2 separate regions of the Homo sapiens genome follow, and region 1 is linked to region 2. The links are contacts of gene promoters, found by promoter capture Hi-C in human tissues and cell types (Jung and others, 2019). All regions are on one chromosome and are shown on one strand. Each heading gives the region's core, a stretch centred on a gene start or on the middle of the fragment in contact. The rest is flanking DNA. Distances are from core to core; before and after follow the strand shown.

Region 1 (3,975 bases), core at 681-3,180, 180 kb after region 2:
ACCTCTTCTGATTGAAAGAGTAGTTAAGAAAAACCCTTTAGTACTGACTTTTTCAAATTTACCGTAATGTAATGACCTCTTTGAAAGGAGAAGTACAGAGTGTATTTTTCATAATGTTACTTAAATTCTGTAGACATGAAACTAGATATAAAACCCTTATGTTCTTGGCTCATACACCACTATAAACCAAATCTGCAAATTAAATACAAAGACAACTACAAAAAAAAACAAAATTCAAATGAATACAATTATTCCATGTGACAGATGATGTTTAGGTTTTGCAGTAGAAAAAAATAGCTTTAGGTCTAATTCCATTTTAAATGTGTTTCTGTATTTTAACTTCAGTGATAATAAAAGCTGTGAGTAGTGCCTCTTCTCATCAGTAATGTTATGCAGGAGGGCATTAATGACTTCAAGGCCTTGTTGGTAAGTTCAGGATGAGACATCATACCTAACCAAAACACTTGACAGCAAGCATTCCTCAAATACAGGCTTATAAGTTTTACTGAGATGTCATCCATTTTGTTCATTGGAAGATAAGGTTAATATCTTGACATTATTGAAATCTTCATTAAATGATTTTCTAAACCAGTTATTGCTGGAAATGAGAATGGAAAAACATTGCATACCTACAATTATATTTACTGCTAACAAATGTTTGCAAATTGTACTACACATGTAGGACCCATATAGCACTTGCATATAATAAAGTACATATATGGTATTGGCTGTTAGGCTATTGGCTTTTGAATATGCATGCCATGCCTGTATTGCCATATGGTCGATTCAAATTCCCTTTATTTTTTACTCTTTCTTTTACAATGACCATGAAACTTATGCTGTGTGTAGTGTGCCACAAGGACATTTGGCCTGAAGGGGATCTTCACACAGCTGAAGAAGCAGCAGTGAAAGCCTAGTGCCAGTGTTGAGACAGTGGCTACTCATGATCTTGAATGTTTATCCTTGTTTTTAGATTATCTTTGAAGTGAAAATATGTTCTCAAACCTTGTACCCAACTTATACATCCTTTTTTTCTCCCAGCATATTTGGGAGACATTGTTTTAGCAAATATTTTTCTGATCACTATCTAAGGAGCCAGGATTCAGAGATGTGAAAAACAAAACAAGCTTGGCCCTTCCTGAGGCAATGAAAGACCCTTTAACAGCAAGCTATAAATAGATTGATTTGTGCTGTTCTAAAGGTATGCAAAGAGCACTATGGAACATATTGAAAGGAGATACCAATTATTGTGAAGGTAAGGGCGAGGTTTAGAGCACATAATGGCAAAGATCCTGTTGAAATAGGGTCTTAAAGGATGAGTCAGATAAGAAGATAGGTTTAAACTAGACAGAGAGATGGTATATGTAAAGACCAAGGTCATGAAAGACATTATTATTATAATGGTGAGAGGTGTGTGGCCCTAGATAGCATTTGCCATGTGAGAAGTAAATTGGAACCCCAAACTAAAAGTCTTGTTAGGCTAGGTGTTTAGCCCTTATCTCATCAGCATAGGGGAGCCATGGTGATCTGAGAACTGGGAGAGTATTCAGGGCAATATTTTTTATGTATAGCGGTTACCACATTGTATTACAGTGTTCTCCTTCACTTGTCATTGGAGCTCTTCAAGTGCTGTGACCATTAGTTATTAATCTTTGTGTGCTAAGCTTTTGGTAGAGTAACTGATAAAAGTAATGCTTAGAAAACATGGGTTGAATGACTAATCATGAGTAAAGAGGATTTAGGAGAGAATTATGACAATGTCCTTCGGTGGTAGTTTTAATGCTTTGTGGGTCACAGACTCCATTGTGATTGACTTGGAAAGCTTTTCCTTGAAAATGTAAATACATATAACATTTGGCTTATAGTTTTATGGGATTCATGTACCTCTGAAGCCAGTCCATGAATTCCTGGTTCAGAATTCCTCCTTAGGAAATCATACCCAGACAGCCATCACCATCACACCTTGTCATGAATAATTACTGTCTCTTTTAGCAGTCTTTATTACGATTGTGTCTCTTTCTTGTCATTTCCTTGAGTTTCTTTCATACTTAGGAAGCAAATAGCTGACCTGTCTATGAATAAAGAAAGCGTTTTTAATAATGATTAAGGTAAAACTTTACTGGTCTGTAAAGATAATAGACAAGTATGTGAATTAAGCCAGCAACCAAGAAACAGCTACTTGAGGGAGAACCTGACATTCCTGAATTTGAGTTGAGCAAGTGAGTTGGGAGTCTGCAGGGCCATCCTCAGACTTGGTTTGCTAGAAGGACTCACAGGACTCAGAAAAGCTGTTACAGTCATGGTTATAGTGTATTACAGCAAAACCATACAGTTAACATCAGCAAAAGCAAAAGGCACCCGGGGTGAAGTCTAGGAGAAATCAGACACAGGTTTCCAGGTGTCCCATTCCAGTGGCATAGCATAGATGGCCTTAATTCTCTCAACAACAATGTGTGACAGCATGCACGAAGTTGTCAACCAGGGAAGTTCGCTTGAGCCTTGGTGTCCAGGGTTTTTACTGTTGGTCAGTCACTTAGGCTTGCAGCATCTGCATGACAGGCTTCAGCCCCTCAGACTTCTCCTACCCGGCCCCCCAGCAGTAATAGGTGTTCACTGTAAATCACATTGTTAGAATAAGCTGTCTGACAAAATTGGTACCATGTGACCCAAGGCCTCAGGCATACAGAAATATTCTTATCAGGGAGAATATTCCAAAGGTTCAGAGCTCATCTACCAGGAGCCAGCCAAGGCCAGTTTTGAAGACAAGTCTTTCTTGGGAATATGCAGGGTTTGAGCAACTCAGTCCTGCTGAGTTAACCCTTTCTTGTACAGCAAGTTAGCTCTTCAGGGAGTTAGCTCTGTCTATCCTGCCCCTGTCTGCCTAGCCACTCCTTTTCTAGGTAGAGTGGACCTTGCTGTTCACGTCATAGATGGCCATTCCGTGTACCTAGACTCCTTTTTATTCCTTTGCCAACAAGTAATTGGAATGTTTGGATTTAAGAACATGTCTGTGCTTTGCAATTTCATGTGACCATGGTGAAATTATGCACACATTCTATCATTGTGATTCAACAAGTATTTTTTGAATGCTGCTGTGCATGAGGCATGGTGTTAGATGGCAGATTGACAGAAATGACTAATACAGGTATCTGGCCTCAAGGAGTTTACAGTTTCATAGGAGAAAGAAAAACAAAACTAGCAATTCTGGTAAGCAGTATGTGTTTTGGAGAGCACTTAACTTCATCAGAGAGCATGGTTGAAGGTGTATCTGTGTGTATGAGAAGGTGTTGGTGATAATTAGAAGGCTTCCCTAAAGAGGTCACTCCTGGGGTTGAGCCATAAAGATCAAGTAGATACAAGTGGGCATGAAGCTAGTATTTTGCTGCCAGTCATTTCTGTAGTTAGGTTGCCTATGTGGTTGGAGCATGTATGTATTGTTACAGGTGTAGTCTGCTTGGCTTCCCTAAGAGAATGCCCCAGTCCTGGCCAGAATATACATGTCTTTTTTAGGGTTTGCACCAAGGGGAATAGAGAGTGTCTGGCTCAGTACAAATCTGTTTCCGTTACTCCATTATCCAGAAAGCCACTGAAATGGCATTAGCCTACACTTAATGGGTGGTAGTGTTTTCACACATTGCTTCTCAAAGGAGGAGTATGTGAATGTTTAGTTTGGGCCTGGTAAAAAAAAAAAAAAAAAAAAAAAAGTATAACCATTACAAATTTAAATGTACTTTGTTTCTAATGGGAAGGCAAATGCTTGCCTTGCTTTGATGAAATTGAACATAACAAAATTTTTCTATACTTGGAAGCAAAAAACTTCAGGAAAAAACCTGGGTCCAAATGTTGCTACATTTCCTTGGGCTTCCACGTGTATGTGGTTCTTAATATAATTTGAAACTTCTAAGAGCAACAAATAGTTGTTTTTTGCTTCTAAGAGCAACAAACAGTGCATAGAAATTGTGTGATAATAGGATC
Region 2 (3,867 bases), core at 57-2,556:
CCATTCATTAGCCTTGGAATGTTTTGAACCTCAGCTTTCTTATCTATGAAATGGGGATCATGACAGTATCACCTTTCCATGGCTGTTGTGGGTATTAAATGAGATAACACAGCTAAAGCATTTAGCAGAGGGCTTGGGACATAATCCACACCAAGTAAGCATTAGTTGCTTATATCCATTCCCATGCCATCTCCTCTGCAAGGCTAACTCACTTGGCAAGAGGTGACCCATCCTCTAGAGTGGAACTGAATCAAACACAGGAACTGACCACAGAGCCACGGCCCACTGTGGCTACTTGGTGCTTCAGGAAGAGAGGTTTCTAGTGTTTACCTGGCTTCAGAGCTGTCCAGGTCTCAGCCAACTTCAGCGGTGCCTCTTCTCACTCCAAGATCTCACACTATGTGCCGGGTGGTAATCTTAATAAAAAGCGACCATTGAGGGTTTACCCAGTGCCCTGCGATAAGCTCTGCACAGATGGGTTAGTCTGCCCTGAACCGCCTCACTCCCACTGAGGGCTTTCGGAGGCAGAGCCTGGTTCATGACCCCCACATCTCATCACAGGGCCTGGTGTGATGCCTCACCCAAGACTGTGCTCCTTCATTCATCCAGCGTTTATTGGCATCTCCTACTACCTGAGCTGTTTTAGGCAGGGAACAAAGCACAGATAAGCCCTCCTGGAGCTTACATTCTGATGAAGGGGGCAGGCAAGGTATACATAGGGAGGAAAGCCCTGGAATCCAGTACATTAAAAACTTTTATTAGGATTATCTCTGCTGCATTTAGTTGTATGTATCCCTTATGGCCCCCAGGCAGGTCCACTCCTGGGCATTCAAGTCGGTCCATGTGTCAGGCGTGCAGGGTGGGTCACAGCATCTAGGAGCTCAGTGCAGCTTGGGACTTTGGGACATACGCTCCACCTCTCTGAGCCTCAGTCTCCTTGTCCATCATATAAGGAAATCACTGATTCCAGCCTTCCTGGGCTGTGGAGAGGATTCCCTCAGCGGCTGTGAAAGAGTGCTTTCTTGCGGGTCAGCCCCGACAGGACAGACTTAAGGGCGGGAGGGAGCCCATCCCGCTTGCCCCAACGAACGCGGGCGCGGGGCTTTCCTCGCAGGTTACATAAGGCAGCCGCGGGTGGAGGCAGCAGAGGCGAGCGCACGTCCGTCGAGGGGGAAAGGGGCGTGGGGAGGCGGCCGGGGCGGCCGGTATCCCCCGGGCGTGAGTGCGCAGCGCGCGGGGGAGCGCAGGGCGCGGCGGAGTCGGGTTTCAGAGCGCGGGTGACTCGGGGCGCGGGCCGGGAGCCGGGATTCTGCCCGCCGCCGCCGCTGCCGAGCGCCGCCTTTGTTCCCTGCAGGAAGGGCGAGCGCGGCGGCCAGCGCTCAGCGACCCTTCGTCCTCCGCTAAGCTCCAACGCTCTGCTCGACTAGCCGCGCGCCTTCCGGGGCTCCGCAGACCCGCGAGATGGCACCAAGGTAAGACCCGCTTCTCTGCTTCCTCGCGTCCCGGGCCCCTCCAATACTCTTGCCCGCCTCACCTTTTCTCCCTCGGGCACATCTTGCAGGAGGAACAACGGGCAGTGCTGGTGTCTGCTGATGCTGCTCTCGGTCTCCACGCCCCTCCCTGCTGTCACCCAGACCCGCGGTGCGACAGGTAAGCAACCCGGTCGGAGGGTGGCACCGGCTGCCTCCGCGCCCGTGGGGGAAGTCGGTTTTGGCGGCGGACGCGGCTGCGATGCGTGCCTCATTCCTGGACATAAAAGGGAGTCTTGCCACTCAGTGCGCACTGGCGGTCCCGCGGGCGGCTACCTCCTGGCAGTGCAGGGGTTATAGCTGTGAATGGGATCCCTGGGCAGCTGGGGCGGTTGGAGCGTTGTCTGGGCACCCGAGATGTCTGAGCTGGGTGCGGAGCCTCCAATCTTAGGCAGAGAGGGACTTCAGAAACAGCGCCAGCGCCAGCGCCAACAGCCTCAGCGCACCCAGCGCCAGCAGCTTAGGTTGTGCGTGCTGGCTGGCTTCTGGTAAGGGCAGGTCTGGTGCCTCTCCGCACACAGGTGCGAAGCATGAACACCGGGAGGGACATCTGGGGCTTTTGCTGCTCAAGAAATAACGGAACTGAATTGCTCGGTTGCTTAACCCAGCTCTGAGTTACCTAAGCGGTCACGTCTATCATGGGCAGTGGCTCCACCGGTGGTGGAAAGAGCTGTGGCCTGGAAGCCAGAGATCTGATCCCTTCCGTTCCCCGGGCCTCAGTTTCTCCAGCAGAACTCAGGCGGTTGGCTGAATAGTAAGATATAAGTTAAAGTAGACCTAAGTTAAAATGGGCCTCGGTTAAGGTCAGACTGCCTGGGTTTGAACTGTGGCTGGCTGAGTGATCTTGGGCAATGGATTTCATCGCTCTGTGCCTCAGTTTCCCCATCTGAAAAAGGCGATTAATTAGACCATTTTACCTTCCTAGAAATGTTGTGAATATTAGAGAAATTAGAAATAATGTGCTTCCCATGATTCCAGTATATACTAGGCACAAAATAAGTGATAGAAATTACTGCTTGATTCTTGCAGTAACTATGTGTTGGAAAGCAATGCAAGTATTTTTATTTTTATTTTAGATTCAGGGAGTGGTCATGTGTGGTTTTTTACAAGGGTATATTGCACGGTGCTGAGGTTTGGGCTTCTATTAATCCCATCGCAATGCAGGTATTTTTATAACATTGAGGTTGAGAGAAGCTTAGAAAGTGGCCAGTCCAAAAGCCAGGACTTGAATCCAGGTCTGTAGGCTCTTGCCCTTGCTCAGCTCTTTCTCCATGCAGTTTTGCAGAAGAGCCATGCTTTCTATAGCTTCTGACCCCCTCCCCTTTGAATTTGGGGGATTAGTACACATCTTCAATTGAATAAGGGAACAGAAAGTCTAGGAAACAACCTCTAGTCGGCCCAAAGGAAACGGGATTGAGAAGGTGGCCTTGGTTAACTCTTTGTTTGCCTGAAGAAGCCCAAGACAGCCCATTGTCTCCTGGGCAACAAGACCCAAATCCGATGATAGCTTTTCCTGCCAGAGTGTCCAGCCTGGCATTTATTGCAGATCAAAGGGCAGCTGGAGTATAGTTTTAGCTTCTCAGCCCCATGGCTCATGTCAGAAAGTTGCAATTTTGCATATGATATAGGGCCCTGCCAACTCAGTGGCAGAGGCCAACTTTGGGTTCCATGGTCTTTTGTGAACTTTGCTGCAACTTCCAGTTTCCCAAAAGGAAGATGGATCTGGGGATAGGAACTTTGGTGTTTCTTTCTCCTCCTGTGTGTGTCTCTGGGATCCCTCAGTGTCAGGGCTGTTGTTTCTAACACAAAGGAAGCCCTATTCCCATTTATAATGTAAAAAGGGAGGGCCAGCAAACCTTCAGGAGCTGAGAACGGTCTAAGGAGGGCCATTTGCAACTGATGGGTTTTCAGTGCCCCTTTGGGGATGTGAAACGATTCCTAAAAATGTAAACTATCCTCCTGCAAACTGCATTTGTAATGCAATTTAATATCCCTAATACTTATAAAACACTTTGTATATCCAGGTGGAGGTGTGAACATGTTCATATTTCATTCATCCAATCCTTACAACCACTCCAGGAGGTGAGGACTGAGAACAGTTACTATCTCTGTTTTTCAGATGAAGAAACAGAGGTCCAAAGTCACAAGACTTCTAAGTGGCTGGGGTGGGATTTGAACCAGACAGTCTGACTCCAGAGTCCTTGCTCTTAACCATCCTAGTGTGTAGTTAGAAGAGCTTCACGGATGGAGAAGGCTTTAGGGGTTCCATGGTCTCCAATGAGCCCCACAATCTGAATGTCACAATTGTAACATGAGTCCATTGCATGGCATTGTGCAG

What was found. The method cuts DNA at HindIII sites, captures the fragments that hold promoters and counts their contacts. A contact is called where the count stands out against the background at its distance.
Region 1: a fragment that was not itself captured here is called in contact with the fragment with the promoter of COL15A1 in region 2 in 9 of the 25 tissues and cell types used here (H1 embryonic stem cells, IMR-90 fibroblasts, adrenal gland and 6 more).

The regions. Positions count from the first base shown.
Region 1 is chr9:99,124,796-99,128,770 of GRCh38, forward strand. The region is part of intron 1 of TGFBR1 (transforming growth factor beta receptor 1); the gene reads left to right. Among named protein-coding and RNA genes, the nearest start is that of TGFBR1, 22 kb to the left of the region's middle. The HindIII fragment of the contact is 6,051 bases long and covers 1-3,975 here.
Region 2 is chr9:98,942,601-98,946,467 of GRCh38, forward strand. COL15A1 (collagen type XV alpha 1 chain) reads left to right here and starts at 1,307. Exons shown (of 42, transcript NM_001855.5): 1 at 1,307-1,472; 2 at 1,562-1,650. The coding sequence starts at 1,462. It overlaps COL15A1-AS1 (COL15A1 antisense RNA 1), which reads right to left and starts at 2,052. Exons shown (of 1, transcript NR_198999.1): 1 at 1-2,052. The HindIII fragment of the contact is 13,688 bases long and covers 1-3,867 here.